Linked DNA regions of Homo sapiens: all the other regions are linked to region 1. The links are contacts of gene promoters, found by promoter capture Hi-C in blood cells and fetal thymus (Javierre and others, 2016). All regions are on one chromosome and are shown on one strand. Each heading gives the region's core, a stretch centred on a gene start or on the middle of the fragment in contact. The rest is flanking DNA. Distances are from core to core; before and after follow the strand shown.

The links. The method cuts DNA at HindIII sites, captures the fragments that hold promoters and counts their contacts. A CHiCAGO score of 5 or more calls a contact.
Region 2: a contact is called between a fragment that was not itself captured here and the fragment with the promoter of SDK2 in region 1, in 4 of 17 cell types (naive B cells, total B cells, naive CD8 T cells and 1 more). The highest score is 7.3, in naive B cells.
Region 3: a fragment that was not itself captured here is called in contact with the fragment with the promoter of SDK2 in region 1 in 1 of 17 cell types (naive CD4 T cells); the score reaches 5.5 in naive CD4 T cells.
Region 4: a fragment that was not itself captured here is called in contact with the fragment with the promoter of SDK2 in region 1 in 1 of 17 cell types (naive CD4 T cells); the score reaches 5.2 in naive CD4 T cells.
Region 5: a fragment that was not itself captured here is called in contact with the fragment with the promoter of SDK2 in region 1 in 1 of 17 cell types (M2 macrophages); the score reaches 5.9 in M2 macrophages.
Region 6: a contact is called between a fragment that was not itself captured here and the fragment with the promoter of SDK2 in region 1, in 1 of 17 cell types (naive B cells). The highest score is 5.1, in naive B cells.
Region 7: a contact is called between a fragment that was not itself captured here and the fragment with the promoter of SDK2 in region 1, in 5 of 17 cell types (naive CD4 T cells, naive CD8 T cells, total B cells and 2 more). The highest score is 7.3, in naive CD4 T cells.

The regions. Positions count from the first base shown.
Region 1 is chr17:73,642,859-73,646,031 of GRCh38, reverse strand. It overlaps SDK2 (sidekick cell adhesion molecule 2), which reads left to right and starts at 1,587. Exons shown (of 45, transcript NM_001144952.2): 1 at 1,587-2,007. The coding sequence starts at 1,944. LOC124904054 (a long non-coding RNA gene) reads right to left here and starts at 558. Exons shown (of 2, transcript XR_007065893.1): 1 at 338-558; 2 at 1-211. The HindIII fragment of the contact is 5,171 bases long and covers 1-3,173 here.
Region 2 is chr17:73,441,778-73,444,848 of GRCh38, reverse strand. All of the region lies in intron 5 of SDK2 (sidekick cell adhesion molecule 2), which reads left to right. Among named protein-coding and RNA genes, the nearest start is that of SDK2-AS1, 70 kb to the left of the region's middle. The HindIII fragment of the contact is 8,005 bases long and covers 1-3,071 here.
Region 3 is chr17:73,822,418-73,825,539 of GRCh38, reverse strand. It overlaps LINC00469 (long intergenic non-protein coding RNA 469), which reads left to right. Exons shown (of 4, transcript NR_027146.1): 2 at 1,715-1,852. Among named protein-coding and RNA genes, the nearest start is that of LINC00469, 4.6 kb to the left of the region's middle. The HindIII fragment of the contact is 1,299 bases long and covers 1,061-2,359 here.
Region 4 is chr17:73,846,455-73,849,225 of GRCh38, reverse strand. No RefSeq gene overlaps it. Among named protein-coding and RNA genes, the nearest start is that of LINC00469, 19 kb to the right of the region's middle. The HindIII fragment of the contact is 7,751 bases long and covers 1-2,771 here.
Region 5 is chr17:73,886,501-73,889,420 of GRCh38, reverse strand. No RefSeq gene overlaps it. Among named protein-coding and RNA genes, the nearest start is that of LINC00469, 59 kb to the right of the region's middle. The HindIII fragment of the contact is 1,365 bases long and covers 867-2,231 here.
Region 6 is chr17:73,512,338-73,515,176 of GRCh38, reverse strand. All of the region lies in intron 1 of SDK2 (sidekick cell adhesion molecule 2), which reads left to right. It overlaps SDK2-AS1 (SDK2 antisense RNA 1), which reads right to left and starts at 1,494. Exons shown (of 2, transcript NR_135635.1): 1 at 1,387-1,494. The HindIII fragment of the contact is 195 bases long and covers 1,309-1,503 here.
Region 7 is chr17:73,421,163-73,424,024 of GRCh38, reverse strand. SDK2 (sidekick cell adhesion molecule 2) reads left to right here. Exons shown (of 45, transcript NM_001144952.2): 13 at 1-109; 14 at 503-639; 15 at 1,591-1,738. Among named protein-coding and RNA genes, the nearest start is that of SDK2-AS1, 91 kb to the left of the region's middle. The HindIII fragment of the contact is 1,464 bases long and covers 682-2,145 here.

The sequences.
Region 1 (3,173 bases), core at 338-2,837:
TATTTTTAATAATTTTGTTAGCAGGGAAAGGAGTCCACCGAGGCGAAGGCACCTGAAATTTTCCCAGTGCCCGGGAAATTTTAACAGAAGCCTGTTAACCCCAGCTGAGCTTCGTGGAGTAGGCGCTAGCTCTGGGCCACAGCAGAGGACGCCTCCGGGCTCTCTTGTTTGAATTCCTCCACCAATGTCCGGTTCTTCTACTCTTTACAAGCTGGGCTCCGAAGGAAAAAAGAAGAAACAAAGAACGCACGCTCCTTGGCACCAACTTCACTTTCTCAGGCTTCTGCAGGTCCCAGGCCTCCCGATGTCTCCCCCTCCGCCCTGAGCATTTCCAGACCTTGGAGAGCCTGACTTGGGAAGGGGAAACTGGAATCAATCGGTTGACCGACCCCCTTTTCCCAACCGCCGCCTCCCCACCAATCACTCCATGTCCGGAAGGGGGCTGGGGGCTCCCGACTATAGGAGACTCTGGGAGTCCTATGAGGCCTTTGAGACAGGGGCGCGAGCGAGGCTGGAAGGAAAGGCTGGGCAGAGAGCGGAGGGGCTCGCGCGCATCTCTCCCGGCGCGGCAGAAGGTTGGCACTGCTGCCCCCCTGCGGGTCCCAGAGCCGCTGGGCGCCCGCGGCCGCGCAGTCGGATTGTATTTCTGCGGGGCTCGCTCCCGGGCCTGGCTCGGGGCCGCCGCCGCCGCCGCCGCCCCTCCCGGCGCGCAGGCTGCTCTCCAGTCGCGGCCACGGGGTAGCGCTCGGCCCCCCTCTCCGCGTCTCCGCCTCCGCCGCGCTCGTCCCCGGCTCACGCTGCCCCCGCAGCTCCGGCTCGGCGCAGGCAGGAGCGGCTCTCTGGACGCCGAGCCCGGGAAGCGGAGGGCGGCGGGCTCGGCGAGCGGCAGCGGCGGCCGAGGCGCTGGGGCGGCCGTTGCTCCTCCGGCCCGGGAGGTCGGCGATCGCCGGGCGTCCGAAGGGGCGCCGCGTCCCCGGAGCCGGGGCTGCCCGCCGGGCTCTCCGTGCGTCTTCCCGAGAGCTCCGGCCGGGGCGCGGCGGAGGGCAGAGCCGCCGGTCTCCATCCTCGGGCCGGCAGGAGGCTCTGCGCCCGGGCGCCGGCGACAGCCCGCGTCGCGAAGCCCAGCACCCTCCCCCGCCGCCCCGCGGCTGGCGCGGACATGGGCGCTCAGGGCTGCGCGCCCGGCTCCGGGACCCGCAAAGTTTGCTAGCCGGCTGGGCGCGGAGCCGAGGGCGCGCCCGGCCCCAGCGCCCCCGGAGGAGACCCGGCGTCTCCCGATTCGGCGCGAGGGCGGTGGAGCCCAGAGGGGGTGGTTCGGCCCCGCCAGATGCTGCCTGCAAAGTTAGAGAGAAGAAAACTTCAGCTCCAGGGAGATTCGGACCGCTATGCTCACCGCGTCCCCCGAAACCGGCGCCCCTAAAAGAACCCCCGCACCCGCGTCTGCCACTGCGCTCGGCTCTGGCCGGGTCCCGGGGGCCCGGCGCCTGGAACGGCGGTGACTGCGTCGGCCGGGAGAACCCAACCAGGGGGCGGGGAGGGGGCGGGCAACGTGGCCACGGGAGGAAGTTTCCTGAAGTTGTCCATTTATTCCGGAGCTCGGCCGGCGACCCGGCCGGATCGCAGAGGCCGCCCTGTTTGGGAGAAGTCGGAGTTGGGGTGCTAAGGGAGAGAGGCGCCCTAGTCCGAGAGGGCGGCCTGGCCTCTTTCTCCCTGCTCGCCCCTCGCCTTCCGGGCGCGCTGCCGGGCTCGGACTAGTACAGAAGAGGAGGAAGGGTTGGGGTAGCCAAGCGCTGCCCCTCCCGGGCATATTACACCCCGGGGCACGGAGCCGCGTAGACTGACTGTTTCCTGGGACTAAGCCACGGGGTATCGGACCCCACCAGGATTATAAAACAGGGCGGAGGGAAGGGAGACCCCGAGGACCCCTCTCCAGGCTGGTCACCATGTGGGGGCTTTTGATCTGGACACTGCTAGCTCTGCATCAGATCCGCGCGGCCAGAGCCCAAGGTAAGGAGGGACCCCCACGTGGGGACAGGGAGGGGGCTGGGAGAGTGGGCGGGGGAGGGGCGGCGGGAGCTGGCCGGCCTCACGGTGACCTCCTGGACACCCGGCTTAGCCGTGGCAGAGCCCTCTCCAGGGAGTTTCAAGACACCCCATCTCCCAAGTTTTGGGGCTCTTTTGGGGGTGGGGCAGTCTCTCCGAGACTTGTGGCTTCCGAATGGGGGAAGGTGGGGACGACCTGGGGAGGCAGAGAAGAGCCCAAGGTGAAGTGGGAGGGGCGCTCCCCTCCCCCCGTCTGCTGTGGCTGCCCTGCGCCGGCTTGGGAGGGGAGCGACATTCCGTGCCGGGCTCCACGCTCGGCTACGCTGAGCTTCCCAGACCGAGCTCCTGGTTCCCTGCTCGGTGTCTGCGGGGAAGGGCAGGGCCCCTGCCGGGCAGGCGATGGCCTCCCCGGGGCGAGGGAGTGGGGTGGGCGAGCGCTGGATGCCGGGTTGCTCGCCCGGGGAGAGCAATTGCCCGGCTTGGCCACGTACGGGAGCCCGCCCCTGGCTGCTCGGCCAGCCGCTGGGGCTGGGGGTGCTTCGCTGCGCGGGCCTGGAGCCAAGGTCGCGGGTGCAGCCGCGGACCCACCGGGGGGTGGTGCACAGGGAGGGTCTGAGGCCTCCCCTCCTACCCATCCACCCACACCCAGCATCCCCGCCCCTGCCTCCAGCCTCCGCTGTTCGCTCGATAGTCTGTGCAGCCGCTCGCTGCTGTGACCTGTGGCTGCCGGGAGCAGCCTCGCGGTGGAGAAGGGCTGGTGGCTTTGGGTTTGGGAGTGCTACGAAGGATCCGAGGTGTGATCTGCGCTGCCCGCTTCCTGAGGGTGGATGCCCAGACGTCCCCCTGGTCCCCGGGCAGGTCCCCGAGGTGAAGGGCGGCTGCACCGGCGGTTCCTCGACTTTGGGGTTCGCCGATCCAGACAGTGGTGTCAGCGGTGTCCGAGCGGCGCCTGCTGGGGGCGGAGGGAGACGAAGCCTGGACCGAGCTCCAGGACTCGCAGGGCTAGGCCTTCACTCTCGCAGGCTCAGGAGGGGGCCAGACCCACCCTAGGGGTCCGGACTGTGGGGGCTGCAACCCACTCCCCACGCCGCCTCGTGCGCCAGGCAATCCAGAGAGCCAAGATCAAAGAG
Region 2 (3,071 bases), core at 380-2,879, 200 kb after region 1:
GCTGGAGAACAGGCATCCCAGAAGCCTGCCCAAGAGAGGGGAGCAGCTCACACCCCTGCCCCACCGCTCACCGACCTGTGGCCCAGGCGAGTCCCATGGTCCCTGAGCCTCAGTTTCCCCATCTGTAAACTGGTGCCTATGGCAAAGTTGGGAGGACTAAATGAGGTGGCACAGGTGGGTCACATGGTCTCTGAGCCTCAGTTTCCCCATCTGTAAATTGGTGCCTATGGCAAAAATGGGAGGATTCAATGAGGTGATTCAGGGAGGATGGATCACGTTAGATGTCCCTTGTCCTGGCTGTTACGCAAAGCGTCTGGGGCAGTGAGATCCAGTGAGGCCCCCCGTGTGGGGAGCCCCGTACACTTCCTCCCACCCCAGGGCCCACCCTATGCCAGGAGCTCACCGGGAAGACACCCCTCCTCTTTGCTCGGGCTCACCTGTGATTTTCATGGTCTGGCCTTTGGAGCCCCATTTACCCCAATAACCCACTTGTGCTGGGGTGACCTTCATTAACAGTAAATCTGCTCCAGGACTCACTTCTCTGAGACCCACTCAACTCCCGCTGTCTCCCAGGGAGCCACGCCATGAAATGCCTGAGGCCTTGCCCGGTACCCTGCAGGGCTTAATGTGCGTCCCCGAGCCTGCGACTCCCACCTCTCCATAGCCTCTGAGTCTGTCACTTGGACTAGGGCTAGCAGGGAGAGCTCTTCCCTGCACAGGCAGGCAAATCTCCAGGAGGGGAGGCTGTCATTTATTGAGCACCTACTGTGTACCAGGCACTCTGCAGTCACCCCAGACCAGCTTAGCTGCCCCCTTCCCGGCAACCATCACACGCTCTTTCATTCATTAACCCCACGAGCATTGGTTCGACTTCCTCTGGGACATCACCCTCCATGAGGACAGACCCTGGCCATCTCGCTTGGTGGAGAATCTCTGGTGCCTGGAACACAGCCTGGCACGTGTCAAGCATTCACCTAGGAAAGATTTGTTGAGCTGGGGCCTGAATTCATACAACCCTGAGAGGTAGTGACTTTCATCCCCATTTCCCCCCTGAGAAGACTGAAACTCAGTAGGATGAAGTCACCAGGATACCTGGGGGCAGAGCTAGGCTTTGAGCCCAGGTCTTCCTCACCCCTGGGACCCTTTCTCACTGTGCCAGCATCCCTGGCCACCTCAGCCCCCATCGAGCCCTGCAGGCTGCCACCTGGGCCTGAGCACATGGCCATCTCTCCTCCATTCCTTCCAGAGCCAACGAGCCAGCCCTGAGCCCTGGGGCAGCCCTCGTATTTTTAAACTCAGAACTCGCCTTCCTTGAGGTCTCCCTGTTTACCTGGCTGTGCCATGCGGCGCTCTGGCTTGGGCTCTAACTGTCTGTCTCTTACTTGTGCCCCATTAATCTGAGCCGTGGTACCTGCGCGCCCCCGCATGTAATAAACAACTTAGAGCACACTTTTATGGATTCAGCTATATCAGCAGCTTTCAATCCGATCGCTCGTTATGGCACCTACATGAGGCTTTTATATTGTTGCAATTATTTTGCTTTATATGCTTCCTTTCTTTCCCCCTTCATTTTACTTTATTTTTTACATTTTATGCGCATTCTTCCTGGGCCTTTTCTAGCAAGGCCTGGAGTCAAGGAAGGAAAACCTGCCCAGGGCTGACAAGGTGGCCCAGAGGGGCAGTGGGGCCACTGTGCACCCTGCCCCTAACCCCATAAAGAACAGCCTGTCACTGTCACCGCAGGGCCCAGCATGTCATCATGGCCTACTACCTCCAGAACCTTCTGGAAAGGGGCCAACTGGATAGATTTGTTGTGGAGAAAAAGTCCTCAGAGGTTGTATTTTCAGGAGCCATGGATCAGGCATACACAGAATATTGGAGTTTATGCCAATATCGGGCCTACACTGACCCATCAAGATGAAAATCTGGCCTCTACTTTAAAAAAAAAAACTCAAAATATAAAAAAAAGGAATTGCTACCACCTCTATTAGAAGAGGAGTTTGGAGTGTTTCTCTCTCTTTTTTTTTTTCCAATAAAACCCACTTACAGGAAGTTCTTGTTCATTTCAATCATCGACCCTGGGAGTTGGATGATGGTAACTCTAGATCCATTCATTTGTTCACTTAACACACGTATTTGAGCACTTACTGTGTGCCAGGCATCCTTCTTCGTGCTGGAGGAGAGGTGGTCGTCAAGACCGCAGGAGTTGGCCAGGCGTGGTGGCTCACACCCATAATCCCAGCACTTTGGGAGGCCGAGGCGGGTGGATCATCTGAGGTCAGAAGTTCAAGACCAGCCTGGCCAACATAGTGAAACCCCGTCTCTACTAAAAATACAAAAATTAGCCGGACGTGGTGGTGGCACCTGTCATCCCAGCTACTTGGGAGGCTGAGGCAGGAGAATCACTTGAACCTGGGAGGCAGAGGTTGTGGTGAGCCGAGATCGTGCCACTGCACTCCAGCCTGGGCAACAGAGCCAGACTCCGTCCAAAAAAAAAAAAGACTGCATGAGTCAGCTCTTGGTGCCATAACAAAGCACCACAGCTGGGGGCTTACAAAGCAAATGTTCTGGCTCCCACCATCCTGGAGGCTGGAAGTCCCAGATTGGGAAGCCAGTATGGTCAGCTTCTCTTCTCAGCTTGCAGATGTCTGCCTTCCAGCCGTGTCCTCACATGGCGGAGAGAGAGCCAGCTCTGGCCTCTTCCTCTTTTTATAAGGACATGAATCTGAAATATGGAAATATACACACCTAACAAGTACCTGGAAACCTGCTTTCTGAGAGTTTCATCCTTAACTCTTTCATTTCATTCAATGAGAGAATTAAAGTATTACATGCTTTTCTAAGCAAAAGTTGACAATATGTTAAGAGAACATTTTTCTTTTTCCTTGGGACCCTCATTGGCCCTCATGAGGCCCGGCCCTCGTGGCCTCATCTAATCCTAATCACCTCCCAAGGGACTCCTCCAAATGCCATCACTTTGGAGGTTAAGGCTCAACATATGAATGGGTGGGGGACACAGCTCAGTCCACAGCAAAGACCCATGAGGTTCCTGGTCAGGGAGAATTTTAGTC
Region 3 (3,122 bases), core at 461-2,960, 180 kb before region 1:
GTTATACAGCCATTAAGTGGCAGTTGGAATTCAAGCTGGAGTCTGGTTCAAGGGTCCATCCATGCTCTTCGCTACTTACCATGCTGATGCCCATATGCGTACCAGAAGGCAGTAGGTGCTTAAATGTTTACAGCACCAGTGATTACTATTAGACCTGAGCTGCAGAATTTGTGGCTGATGGTGGCTGGTCTGTGATCATTGTCTGGTGGGTGGGTTGCCCTAGCCCCCAGGCCTTCCTCTTGCTTTTTTTCCCCTCCACTCTTGAAAGGGAAGCTGAAGCTCTGGAAATCTACAACTATCTGCTGTGGGGGCTGCCTGAGCAGGTGGCAGGGCCCTTCTCTCCTGTTCCACAGACGATCTGATTCACGGTGGGCCCCTCGTGGCTGCTCCTGTCCACCTGGGCTACCACTCACACCCCTGCAGCCCTCCCTCCGATCTTCTCAAAGGCATGTGAGATGGTTTGCAAAAACACCCTCAACCCTGAAGAACAATCTAACTGTAAAATGCTCAAGGCTGGGCACAGTGGCTCACGCCTGTAATCCCAGCACTTTGGGAGGCCGAGGCGGGCAGATCACTTAAAGCCAGGAGTTCGAGACCAGCCTGGCCAACATGACAAAAACGGGTCTCTACTAAAATACAAAAATTATCCAGGTGTGGTGGTGTGTGCCTGTAATCTCAGCTGCTCCAGAGGCTGAGGCAGGAGAATCGCTTGAACCTGGGAGGCAGAGTTGCAGTGAGCCAAAATCATGCCACTGCACTCCAGCCTGGGTGACGGAGGAAGACTCCCTCTCAAAAATAAAAATAAAAATAAAATGCTTAAGAAAAATGAAACAAAACAAAAGCAATATCATTGAAATAAATGGCAGGAGGCTGCTTATTGAGGGGGTGTGGGAGAGACAGGGAGAGACAAGGAGAGAAGGTCATTTCCAGGATCTGTTCCTCAGATGGAGCCCAGTATGCACCGCTCTTTCCCAGAGCGGCCCTCTACAGATGAAGTGTCACAGCAAACAGAAAACCACAGATTCAGCCCTGGGGGCTACCAGCTTGGAGACTGGAAGCTTTCTGCTCCTCCTCTTAATTACTTTGTGCTTGAAAACCCTCGTGGCATATTGACCCTCCCAAGAAGCAGTAGGACGGGGGAGGACTCAGGACCTCCTAGACAGTCCTCTGAGTCCTGTCCCTTCATTCCCTGACAGTCAAAAGTGAGATTTTTTCCTCCATAAAGGAAAGGTGAGTCTGCCACTTCAGATTCTCAGCAGGCACTGCCGTCTCAGTGTTCTGGCCTGAACTCTTTGGAGGAGTCGTGTGACTACAAGCCTGAGAGCTGAGGACAGGGCACCCAGGGGATCCCAGGGACCAGCAGAGAGCTCTTTCCAGCTTCCTAGGTGGGTGTCCTGGCCAGTCCCACAGGCCCTTGTTTAATGGTCTGCTGTTGCTGTCTTGAAATTTTAAATCATTTTTCACAAGAATTGCAACATTTTCATTTTGTGCCGCCCTGCCAAGTGAAGTGGCTGCTTCTGCCTGGGGGTGTCAGTGTCCCATGGACATAAGGCACTGAAGTTAAGGGGCTCCTTTCTCCTCCCTCCTGGCATTTTTCACAGCAGGTTTCTCAACCACAGCAGTGGTGACACTTTGAGCTGAATTATTCTTTGTGGCGGGGGCTGTCCCGGGCCTTGCCGGATGTTTAACACCACTCCTGGCATTTACCCACCAGACGTCATCAGCACCCACCCTCCCAGATGTGACAATCAGAAATGTGTCCAGACATATCCAGATGTCCCTTATGGGGAAGGGAGAATCGCCCTGGCTTTGCAGACTCCAGCTGGAACCCCTGCTGCAAGCGATGGAGGAGGTGAGCTTTTCTTTCAGACTGACATAGAAAATTCCTTGGCAGGTCTTGTCCTGGGTTCACTCAGACACCACCAAAATAAGGAAATAGCTGAAGAAGAAGGCCAGAGCTTCTGAACGAAGAGAAACCCTACCAAATTTGGGTAGGGGGAGACTCTGAGGAATATTCCATAAGGTTGGGAGGGAGGTAGACAGGTGGATCCCAGACACCTGGACTCCTTGATGGAGGCAGGTCTAGCTCCCCTTCGCAGCTTCTGAGCATGCCCCCTGGCCTCCTCTTTGGACTCCTGCATCAAGAGGGCAGATGGGAAACCACCAGGCTTTGGGTCAGAAGACCCAGATTTAAATTTCAGCCACCCGCTATGTGACCCTGAGCCAGTTTCATAACCTTTCTGAGCCTGTTTTCTCACCCACAAAATAAAACTAACCATACCTACCTCGGGAGTCACGAGATGAAAGAAAAAGTGTGTCAAGCCCCTGGCAGGTGCTCAGTATCAGCAGCTATTAAGCTTTTTTCTAACCAACTCTGAGCAAATCCCTGACCCCCTGGAGCCCTCATTTATCCTCACCTGGGCCACAGAAAAAATAGCTGACTGGCGTCTTTCCCCCAGCCAAGGAGACAGAGACAGCCTGAAGATAAGACTGAAGTGAAGAGCCAGGCGCAGTGGCTCACACCTGTAATCCCAGCACTTTGGGAGGCTGAGGCAGGCAGATCACCTGAGATCGGGAGTTCGAGACAAGCCTGGCTAAGATAGTGAAACCCCGTCTCCATCAAAAATACAAAATTAGCAGCGCGTGGTGGCGCGTGCCTATAATCCCAGCTACTTGGGAGGCTGAGGCAGGAGAATCACTTGAACCTGGGAGGCGGAGGTTGCAGTGAGCCGGGATGGCGCGACTGCACTCCAGCCTGGACGACAGAGTGACTCCGTCTCAAAGAAAGAAAAAAAAAGGATTGAAGTGAAGAGCGAGGAGTGTGCCTGAGAAGAGGCAACCATCTCGTGCTTTCGTGAGTAATTAAAAATGGTATTTGGTCTCCGGTGATACCGCCGTGAAAGAACCTTGACAAAATGAGCTTCAAAGGTGCGGCGTTCCCCAGGTGTTTCCTCCCGAGTCCCACATCCTAGCATCTCAAACCCCATTAAGGGGCATCTGTGGCTGTGGGCAAGGCCAGGCCCGCTCTCTCCTTGAAAGAGATCAAATCCTGTCTCAGAAATTTGATTTTAATTGCGACTGTTCTTATTCATCTTGAAATTCATTTGAGGCCGTAAATCCAC
Region 4 (2,771 bases), core at 71-2,570, 200 kb before region 1:
CAGGGTAGTAGAGACCAAATGTATGCCCAGGCCAGGTTCCAAAGCTCGCTCTGCATTGGTTGGCTGCCAGGAAGCAGCGAAGGAGGCCAGGCTGCAGGACATGCTCAGGGGGTGCTGGGTGGCATCTGAGTCCCGAGAGCAGAACTGTGTGGCCTCCCATGTCCAGAGAGGAGGCACCTGATGGAAGGACAATAATGAGCTGCAGTCAATGGCAGTGAGGAGGGTCAGAGGTCAGAAGTAAGTAAGGGGCTGGGTGACATGGTGGGTGTCGAGCACTGAGCAGGGAGGGGACAGAGGTGGGTGGAGAGAAGGACAGAGGGGAGGCCTTGCCAGGGAGCCAGGTCCAGGTCTGGAAGCCCATGCCTAGAACACCAAGTGCGTTTGGAAGCACTAACCTCAATCCTTTAGTCCCAGCCGTGTGTAGCCAGACACGGACCTCCAGCTTCCCAGCTTCTGTGCCTCCCATAGGCTCCAGGTGTCTGGACAACTAACAAACCTGGAGCCTGGCTGCCCCTTCTGTGCTCACACGGGCTCCTGAGCAGGGCTCCCTGTGTCTCCTGCCCATCCACAGACTGGCTGGCTCGGGTCCTCTTCATGCCGTGTTGGGGGAGGCCTTCCAGATTCATCTTGCACGTTCTCCTTTGCTCCAGGCTGCTCCTGGGAAATGAAAACCCACGAATCAATGCCAGAAAAATGACCATCTCCACTCACCCTCGCCAGGAAACCAGCTTTCAACTCTCCCACCTTGGGCACAAGAGGCGCAGTGGGGCTTAAATTCCTTAAGTTCTGTCTTCTCTTGGGGTGTGCTTCCTATAGCTCAGGGCCAACTCATTAATTTATCTGTCAGGAGCACTGAGGCGGCCACGAAACATTGATGAGGCCATTAGGGCATGAGGGTGGACGGTAAAGTGTGGTGGGGGAGCCTGGACTGTGTGCCCCTGGCGGTGGATTTGGGGTGCATTCCCAGCTCCCGAGCACGAATGTGGCGCTGCTTCAGGCAGATCATCACACGCCGCTTGGAAGGCCTGAGTTAGGATTAATGGCCGGGCATTGTGCAGCTTTTCATCTCCCGCTTGTGAATATATATGAGCACTGTGTTCTCGCCGCAGCTGGAGTTAAAGAGCTGCCACCACCTCACTGAAGACTGGGAGAGAAACATTCAGCTCAGAAGCAATTTGGCTCCCAGGCTGGTCCCTGCGTGGTGGGCTTGTTTCTGCTTTTCCCTTGCTTATTGGTATAATTAAAGCAGTGGGGGCAGAAAAGGAGTTGGGGATCTTAGTGGCTGAGGATTCCATGTCTTTGAGGTCAGTAAGACTTGGGTTTGAATCCTAGCTCCACCAAAAGCTCTGTGATCTGGGGAAAAATTACTCAACCTCTCTGAGCCTCAGTTTTGCTGAGATAAAGCCACCTTCCTCAAGGCCTGGGTAGGGCTAAAGGAGATGATGTGAGTAGACTGTGGAGTTCCTAGCCCAGAGTTGGCTGCTGCAATTAGGGTTCTAGATCCAAGCAATAGAAACTGATTCTGGCTAATTGAAGCAGCAGAGAAATTTGCTGAAAGGGTATCAGGAGGTTGCAGAATTTCTGGGAGGGCTTGTGTCTTAGTCTGTTTTCACACTGCCATAAAGACATACCTGAGGCTGGATGAGGTGGCTTACACCTGTAATCCCAGCACTTTGGGAGGCTGAGGTGGGCTGGATCACTTGAGGTCAGGAGTTTGAGACCAGCCTGGCCAACATAGTGAAATCTCCATCTCTACTAAAAATACAAAAATTAGCCGGGCCCGGTGGTGTGTGCCTGTAGTCCCAGCTACTCGGGAAGCTGAAGCAGGAGAATTGTTTGAACCTGGGAGGCGGAGGTTGCAGTGAGCCAAGATCATGCCACTGCACGCCAGCCTGGGCAACAGAGCAAGACTCTGTCCAAAAAAAAAAAAAAAAAGACTTACCTGAGATTTATAAAGGAAAAATATTTAATTGACTCACAGTTCAGCATGGCTGGGAAAGACGCAGAAAATTTACAGTCATGGCGGAAGTTGAAGGGGAAGCATGGCACCTTTTTCAGAAGGCGGCAGGAGGGAAAATGAACACAGGCGGAACTACCAAACACTTGTAAAACCAGCACATCTCGTGAGAACTCACTATCATGAGAACAGCATGGCGGAAACTGGCCCCATGATCCAATCACCTATACCTGGTCTCTCCCTTAACACATGGGGATTATGGGAATTATAATTCAAGATGAGATTTGAGTATGGACACAAAGCCTAACCATATCAGCTTGGCTTTGTGACAATGTATACAGGACCACAGCCAAAGTCACAGCCTAGGCATGGTCTGGTGAGGACCCTCCACCACCTCCATGGAGCACCAGGGGCCCCATTTTGTGGGTCCTGGATACAGGATGCCACTGCAGCCACTACGAGGCCACTGTCCCCTGGGAACTGGATAGAGGCTGTTAGTAACCACGACCACAGGTTCTCCATTCGTCCTGCATCTGTCTATCTTGCATCTGTGTATCCTGCATCTGTGTGGCCAGCTCCAGACAAAAGGTCCAGGAAGGGCACATCCGGTTGTCAAGCCTGGTCACAAGCAATGCAGGCTGGCAGAGTGCGTCACTGGCATGCTTAGATTCTATATCGGGGACTTTTTCCAAACATACAGAGGGGAGGTGGATTCTGGATGGCCCAAAATAGCCATCTTCTTTGTGCTCTAGTATTGTCACTGGAGTTGGGACATACGCAAGGCAGTTCTCACCTGCCATTTATGTCCAGAGCC
Region 5 (2,920 bases), core at 300-2,799, 240 kb before region 1:
TCCTATGTCCTTGATGAGAGAGCTGATGCTAAGTAACTTGCCTAAGGTCACACAGGCACAAAGTAGAGGCCCTGAGATTTGAATCCAGGCCATATGGCTCTGGCGTCTATGGCTTGACTGTCTTACTGTGCTGCTAACAGCAGAGTCAGGTATGATCTGGTGTTGATGAGCGCTTGGGAGAGCATGTTAGTTATCTACCGCGTTTAACAAATCACCCCAAATCACTCCAAAACTTCACAGCTTAAGGCGATCACATTTGTGATCTCAGTCTTTGTGGGTGGGGCCTCTGGGTGTGGCCTGGCTGGGCCCTCTGCTTTGGACTGTCTCTCAGGCTGCAATCGAGGTGTTAGCCAGGGCTGGAGAGTGGGCACTGTGCCATTTGTGAAGGCTTGACTGGAAAAGGCTTCACTTCCAAGTTCACTTTTGTGGCTGTTGGCAAAATTCAGTTCCTTGACAGTTGTTGGGCTCAGGGCTTTCGTTCCCAGCTGGCTGTAGGCTGGAGGCTTCTCTCAGTTCCTTGTCGCACCAAAGAAGCCAGCAAGAGAGAAAGTCCACTAGCAAGAGAGAAGTTACAATCTTTTAAAACTTATCTCAGAAGTGACAATCATTATTTTTGCCATATTCCTGTGATTAGAACAAGTCACCAGGCAAGACCATGTTCAAGGAGAGGAGATTACACAAGAATGTGAATACCAGGAAGTAAGGATCATCTTAGACCACCTTAGAGTCAGCCTGCCACAGAGAAGAGGGTAGCCAGCTCCAGTGCCTATGACCCAAATCTAAGATTAGGTGAACATTCTGCAAAGCTTAGAGGCATGGGTTTCCTACCTATGGGCAGGGCAGCTCACTTCTACTCCAAAGAAGCTTATTGAGAGGATGACCTCCTGATAGTTTTATCTCCTATCCTTTTGTGTAGATATCAGAATGAGTAGATAGAATCTTGTTTCTGAAAATGATGCTAAGATCTGCTACACAACCATCATTTTAAAACAATTTTCCACCATGTTCCTAACCTTCCTTCCACCTCTCCTTGTTGAGGGGTTGATCCGTTTGTTGATGCAGATATTTGCTGCTATGCAATCGGCACAGCACCTGCTAGTAAAGACCTACAGATAAAACACACAGTTCCTGGATTTAAAAGAGCTCAAGTGACATTTATTATGTTAGCCATATTCCTTTGGTTAGAACAAGTTGCCAGTCTGGCCCACATTCAAAGAGAGAAGATGACACAAACGTGAGTGCCACGAGGTGGGGATCAGCTTAGACCATCTTAGAGTCCACCTGCCACAGAGAAGAGGTATCTAAGCAGAAGATCCTCTGCAAATGCGACATAGCTCTAGGAAGAGAAGGCTCAGACTCCTTTCCATTATAACCCAGATGCCATGTGTTACAGCAGAGATTATAACAGCATGCCATGGGTAAGCTCAGGTAGGCTTGGAAACTCGGGGCCTATGGAATTTTCCCCAGGGGAGGTGATAAGATTAGCTGCATCCGGAAGGACAATGAGGAATCAGGGAGGTGGTGGATGAAGGAATCCCCAGACAACACACACAACTTCTAGAAGAGTCCAGAGGCTTGAGGGAGCTCAGCACTTTCTGGGAACTAGAAGACACCTGGTGGGGCTAAACTCAATGAGGTGGTATGAGGAAGCTGCAGGTGGTTGAGAACATGTCCCAGCCCTACTGGCTGCATTTGGAAGGTCTTTGTGTCAAGAGGAACCTTCATTATCAATACATACTTCATGAGCACTTACTGCATACCACTTGTGGTTCTATGCACTAAGAAGATAGTGGTAAATAACACTGAAAAGGTCGTGGGTTCCCAAGACCACTTCCCTTCTGACACCAATGGAAAAGTTTGGGGGTTATCCAAGACCAGCCTCAGGTTCAATGATTCACTGGAAGGACTCAGAACTCAGCAAAGGCATTATACTTATGGTTGTGATTTATTACGGTGAAAGGATACAGATGGAAATCAGTCAAGGGAAGCGGTACATGGGGCAGGGTCCAGGAGAGACCAGGCATGAACTTCTGTTGTCCTTTCCCAGTGGAACTTTGGACAGCACCTGTTTCTTCCAGCAATGATGTGCGATAACACACACAGAGTCTGGCCAACCAGAGATGCTCACCCAAATCTTGGTGTCCAGAGATTCTATTGGGGCTCAGTCACATAGACACGATTGACTGCCTGCCAGGTTGACCTTAGTCTCTAGGCCTTCCAGAAGTCAAGCTTATACCAAGTGGTCCAAGACCACCCCCCCAACCTACCACAAATCATATTGTTAGCATAGAAAATTTAGGGTGGCCCAAGACCCCAGGTAAACAAAGATGCTCTTATCAAACAGGGCATTCCAAGGACATAGAGGTTCCCTCCCAGGAGCCAGGGCCAAAGACCCAAACCTTTCTTTGGGTAAAGTTGATCCTTTACTGCACAAATACAGACTTGGTTCCTGACTTCAAAGAATATGCTTCCTAGTGGGGAAGACAGATCACACCCCTCCCCCACACACAACCACCGCCACCACCATTACTACCGCCACCAACACTCAACCAACAATATAACTACAAATGGTTATGAATGCTGTGAAATAAAGAGTCAGAGGTATAGCAGGACACTGACCTAGAAGCGCAGAGAGAGACTTCATTGATAGGGTAGGGAAGGAAGACATCTCTGAAGAGGGGACTTTGGAGTTAAGACCTGAAGAATGACAATGAACCATCATGCATGACAAGAGCTGGAGTTAAATCATTCCAGGCAGGTAGAATGGCAAGTACATAGTAAAAAGGAGAAAGGGTCTTGGTGTGTTCAAGGAGCAGAAAGGAAACAGGTATGAATGGAAATAGTGAGCCAGAGGGAGGGGTCATGTAATGGAGCTGGACAGACACATCATGCATAGCTTTGTAGGTCACTTTAGGGAATT
Region 6 (2,839 bases), core at 157-2,656, 130 kb after region 1:
CCAGTTACAGAACCTTTCTGAGCGTTGGTTTTCTCCTATTAAAATGGGGAAAATGATAGTGGTTTCCTTGAGATGAACTCAGGCCTCTTAACTAAGATGATGAATGTAAAGTGCTTCATGGATAGAAAGTTCCATGGTTAGTATGGAATAAAGGCAGCAGCAAGACTAGAAGTTTGGAGAGAAGTGAGGTTTGGTGAGAGCAGCCCACCCTGAGCCCCTGCTCCCTCTGACCCCGGGTCCATCCTGCTCAGGTGTGTGGTCCACCAGGGGTAAGGAGCACAGGTTTCCACCCCTGGCACCCATTAAGAGGCCGTGGTAATCAGTCCAGGACACGGTGGTGGGGCCAAGACTAGGAGATGGTGGGAGAAAAGTTTGCGAGTCTAGAAATCCCAGCTCCCACCCTGTTTCCAAGCATTCCAGGGAAGCTCGTGATGACTGAGCCCTTATTCTATGCCTGAGAAGAAGCCGCAAAAAGAGAGAGGTTTCTGCATGTTTCAGAGCTGGGAAGGGAGTTTGTCCAGGCTTGGTACTCCCTGCAGCTTATTCTGGAGGGCAGATGGACATCATTTGGCCAATTAGGTGGCTGGCAGAAGCCATCACCCCCTTCCTCCACCCACCGACCCATTCCCAGCAGAATGGCTCCACAGGAGGTGCGGTTCCCAGGGCTGGGCTGGCTGGGAAGTCAAATCCCCTGAACAGTGAGATGGACACAGCCTGGGGACTCCAGAGAAAGATGACATTATTTTGCAGAGAAGGGGAAAAGTTGAAGTTGAGATTGGCTTCTGTATGGGGCCATTTAGCCTGGAGCCTAGGGAGGACAATGGGGGTATTTAGTGCGAATATCAAGGGAAGATGGCAGTCAGCGATCCCCTGACCTGTTATGGGAAATTACAAGGAAGCCCCGGGCTGAGGCCTCTTGCTGGCCTCTGAAGGCCGCTCTTCATTTAAGCAGCTCAGGCTCTGCTGGTCCGGGACCTCCGAGCCACGTGACATGCCTAAATGACACACAGAGGGTCTGTCCTCTTCCCTGTCATCAATGGGATCACCCTGTGAACAGCTTACCATGCACACTCACATACACGTATGCACATGTATACATATATCTGATCATAGATAAGTAATTCATACCTGTGGTCCACAATATCAATGTTACACAAAGGTATAGAGTGAAAAGCTAGTCCCCCAACCCAAGTCCCCGGGCACCCAGACCTCCCTCAAGTGTCACTGGGATCCATTTTTCATGGAGCCACTAGAAAAAGCCTGTGCCAATACAAGCAAATTGATTTTTATACTTGAAGAAGAAAAGCTTCTACGTAAACAGTAGCAGATTATCCACCCTATTCCATGCCTGAGCTTATCCACCCTATTCTTGTTTTTGTCACTTACCAGTAGTTCTCAAAGATCGCTCAGGCGCCGTCTGCTGCACAGAATTCTGTTGTTTGGAGGGACAATCGTTTCTTTAAGCAGTGCCCTCTTGATAGGCATTCAGGCCATTTCCAAGCTTTTGCTGTTATAAGCTGAGCGGCTCTGAAGTACTGTCATTTCACACATGCACAAGTGAGTCTGTGGAGGGTGAATTCCTTGAAGAGTTGGCGAATTGGAGGATGTGTGCATTTTTAGCTTTGATAGCATTGCCAAATTGCTCTCGTAGAGGGCGTACCAAGCTACAGTCCCGCAAAGCTGTCTGCGAGGGTGCCTGTTGCTCTACAAATTCACCAGCCCAGAATATCACACTTTTACATCTTGGCCAGTGTGATAAGGGAAAAAATGGTATCTTATTGAATTTTAGTTTTCCTTTTTCTTATCATGAGGCTGAGCATCTTTGTGTGAGTTCCAGGGGCATTTGTAATTCTCTTCTGCGAACTTCATATCCTTTGCCCATTTTTCTATTGGTTTGTTAATCTTTTTCTTACTGATTTGTGGGAACATTTCTATATCAGGAAAATTAGCTCTTTGCCCGTGATAACAGTTGCAAATATCTTTCCCCAGTTTGTCATTTGTCACTTCTTTTTGTTTATGAGGGTTTTTTTTTTTCCAGGCAGAATTTCTGTGTAGTTGAAGGTATCAATCTGTTTTATGACCTTTTGGAGCTTGCATAGTACTTAGAAAGTACTTGGCGAGTACATTGCTTTGCCAAGACAGTATATTTTTAAATCTCTGATTTTTTTTCTAGGTCTTTTAGAATTTCATTTTTCATGTTTAAAACATTGATCCATCCAGCATTTATTTTGAGGTAAAAGTGCCAGAAAGAGATTCATCTTTATTTTTTTATCCCCAAATGGTTCCCTAGCTGTTTCAAAACCATTTATTGACTAATTGGTGTATTACCCACTGATTTGAAATTCTACTTTCATCATACATTAAATTTCCTCGTATGTATTTGGGTCTATTTCTAGACTCCCGGACTATTTCTTCATCAGTCTATTTTACAAGAAGGCACTGTTTTCATTATTGCAGCTTTGTAATGTAGTTAAATGTCTATGCTAGTTTCCTCTGTTTGCTATACTTTTTCAGAATTTGTTTGGCTATTCTTTCATGGTTGTTGTTTTGATGTGAACTGTAGAATCACTTTGCCTACTTAAAAAAATTCCTTCGTATGTGTATGTGTGTGTGTGTGTGTGTGTGTATGTGTGTGTGTTTGAGGTGAAGAAAAGTTTAAGAGAATGACATCTTTATAACGTTGATTCTTTCTATCCACAATTCTCCTTCCTTCTCAATTATCTCCTTTTCCACAGAGAGGGTGGCTAACAGGGCTGTTGTGTACAGTTGCACAGGTTGTTTACTGCACCATCCTAGTACTAAGGCTGAGGGGAGCCACTGGCAGCTGCCAACAGGATAT
Region 7 (2,862 bases), core at 164-2,663, 220 kb after region 1:
ACGGCTCCCTGCACATCTCACAGACGTGGTCGGGAGACATCGGCACGTACACCTGCCGGGTGATCTCAGCAGGAGGCAACGACTCTCGCAGTGCCCACCTGCGAGTCAGGTAAGGGCAGCCCTCCCAGACCCCGGCAGAGGCGGTCCAGGCAATAGCAACTGGCATGCTCAGAGCCAGCCGAGTCCCTTTTTTCAGATCCCCAGGCCACGTGTGACCTGAACTGTTCAGCTTTGCTCAGGACATACCCCCAGCATCCTTCCAGGCCTTTCTCTCAGCTCAGTTAGGCCCTCCGTCAAGAGCAGGGGGGTGTGAGGATGGCTTTAGCAGGAGGGCTCTGGTTCCAGAGAGAAAAATCTCCAGGTAGATGGCCCGAAGGCCACATTTTACGTCTAAGCATGCGGTATCATGGAAGGTCAAGGCCTACACAACCTGTGTCCACAGCGCCCCCGTCACCTGCCTGCAGACCACATAGGGATGCCTGACCACGTGTCTCTTTTCCAGGCAACTGCCCCACGCGCCCGAGCACCCAGTGGCCACTCTCAGCACCGTGGAAAGGCGAGCCATCAACCTGACGTGGACCAAGCCCTTTGATGGCAACAGCCCCCTGATCCGCTACATTCTGGAGATGTCGGAGAACAGTAAGCTTCCCGTGGTCACCTCCAACACCTCCCGCCCAAGCTTGGACTTAGGAGTCAGCCCTGGGCTGGGGTCCCAGCTCTCCTGCTTCCTAGTTCTGGGCCTTTGAGCAGATCCTTCCCTCTGGCAGCCTCAGCGTTCCCATCTCTGAAGGAAACACAGGCATCTGCCTGTCAGGCCCTGTTACAGTTGAAAGAGATGACGCACAAAAGGTGCTTAACTCAGGGCCTGGCACAGCAGAAGCTGCAAAGAAAATGGCCAGTATTTATTTATTATTTATTTATTTATGTATTCCCCAAGTCAAATGAGCAGGCATAATTCGCATTGCATTTTATTTATTTATTATTTATTTATTTATTCATTTTTGAGACGGAGTTTCACACTTGTCACCCAGGCTGGAGTGCAATGGTGCCATCTCGGCTCACTGCAACCTCTGCCTCCCGGGTTCAGGTGATTCTCCTGTCTCAGCCTCCGAAGTAGTTGGGATTACAGGCATACATCACCATGCCCAGCTAATTTTGTATTTTTAGTAGAGATGGGATTTCACCATATTGGTCAGGCTGGTCTCAAACCCCTGACCTCAGGTGATCTGCCCGCCTCAGCCTCCCAAAGTGCTGGGATTACAGACATGAGCCACCACACCCAGCCTGAATGGCATTTTAAACACAGCTTGCCTAGAGCTCATCAATTTGTGGGGGGTAGTGGGGGAGACAAATGCATCTCAGTTCCCATAAGCCCTTACTTTCCTCCGGCACCCTCCACCGTCTCCTCCCCAGGGTCGTGTGAGCTAATGGGACCTAGAAAAATGGCATGGCGGGCCACTCCTGCACCAAGCTGGGGAGGCTCTCTCTTGCCAGCCCCAGTGAAGCTGGACCCTGCTGGGAGTGGGGAGTAAGAAGCATGCTTCATCCCACCCAAGATACCCACTTCTGCCCCACTCACTGTCCCTGCAGATGCCCCCTGGACTGTACTCCTGGCCAGTGTGGACCCCAAAGCTACCTCAGTGACAGTCAAGGGCCTGGTTCCTGCACGCTCCTACCAGTTCCGTCTTTGTGCCGTCAACGACGTGGGGAAAGGACAGTTCAGCAAAGACACCGAGAGGTGAGGGCACTGGCGCTCTACAGGGGCGTCGCCAGGACTCCAACAGGCAGGGGCTGCAGCCGAAACCGATGTGGCAGATTCTGGCTCAGCTCCTCCTGGCCCCCTCTAGGCTTCCGCCTCTGTAGAAGGGGAGAGCAATCCTGATGAGTGCCTCACCAGGATGTTGCAAAGGTTAAATGGGGTGCTCTGAGTAGGGCACTGGGGAACGCGGTGAGCACCAACCAAATGTAGTCATCCCAGTTACTGGGAGCTGTGCAAGCAAAAAGGCTCACCTCCTTCCACTCCACATCCGCATGGGCTGCTGTCATTGTTAAATGGATGCAAAATTCCAGAGATACAGGATCTACACAGATCTCCATATCCATGTCTTGCACGACGCCAGGCCCTGCTAGGGTTCCCGCAAAGCTTTTATAAAATGATGGAAATTGCTGGGCACGGTGGCTCACACCTGTAATCCCAGCACGTCAGGAGGCTGAGGCGGGCGGATCACCTGAGGTCAGGAGTTCGAAACCAGCCTGGCCAACATAGCAAAACCCAGTCTCTACTAAAATATGAAAATTAGCTGGGTGTGGTGGTGGGCGCCTGTAATCCCAGCTACTCGGGAGGCTGAGGCACAAGAATCCCTTGAATCAGGGAGGCAGAGGTTGCAGTGAGTCGAGATCCAGCCTGGATGACAGAGCAAGACTGTCTCAAAAAAAAAAAAAAAAAAAAAAGATGGAAATTGAATAAAAGCTGCAGATGCTTCATATAAAAACATCACACGGTGATACCCATCTATGTAGAAGGAGAATTCTATCCTCTCCAGCTCCGTAGAACAAGCAGCCACCTCTAGCAAGAAAGATGTCATGGGAGAGGTCAGAACAACCGTGATACAAATCACGTGCGCAAAGCCTTGCACTTGGCTCTTTGAAAGACGCCTGGGGCTTAAATCAATCATGGTGGTTTTGCCACAGTTGCAATGAGCTTGGGTCTCTCTGGCTTGTACTAAGGTAGCACCACTGGGGTCAAACAATCTCACGGGAGGGAGCAGTGGCAGGTGGCAGCCCGTGTGGAGAGCAGTTACAGGGGGATTTACATACTCACTGTTTACTGAGCAGCTACCGTGTGCCATGCCACGTTTGGAC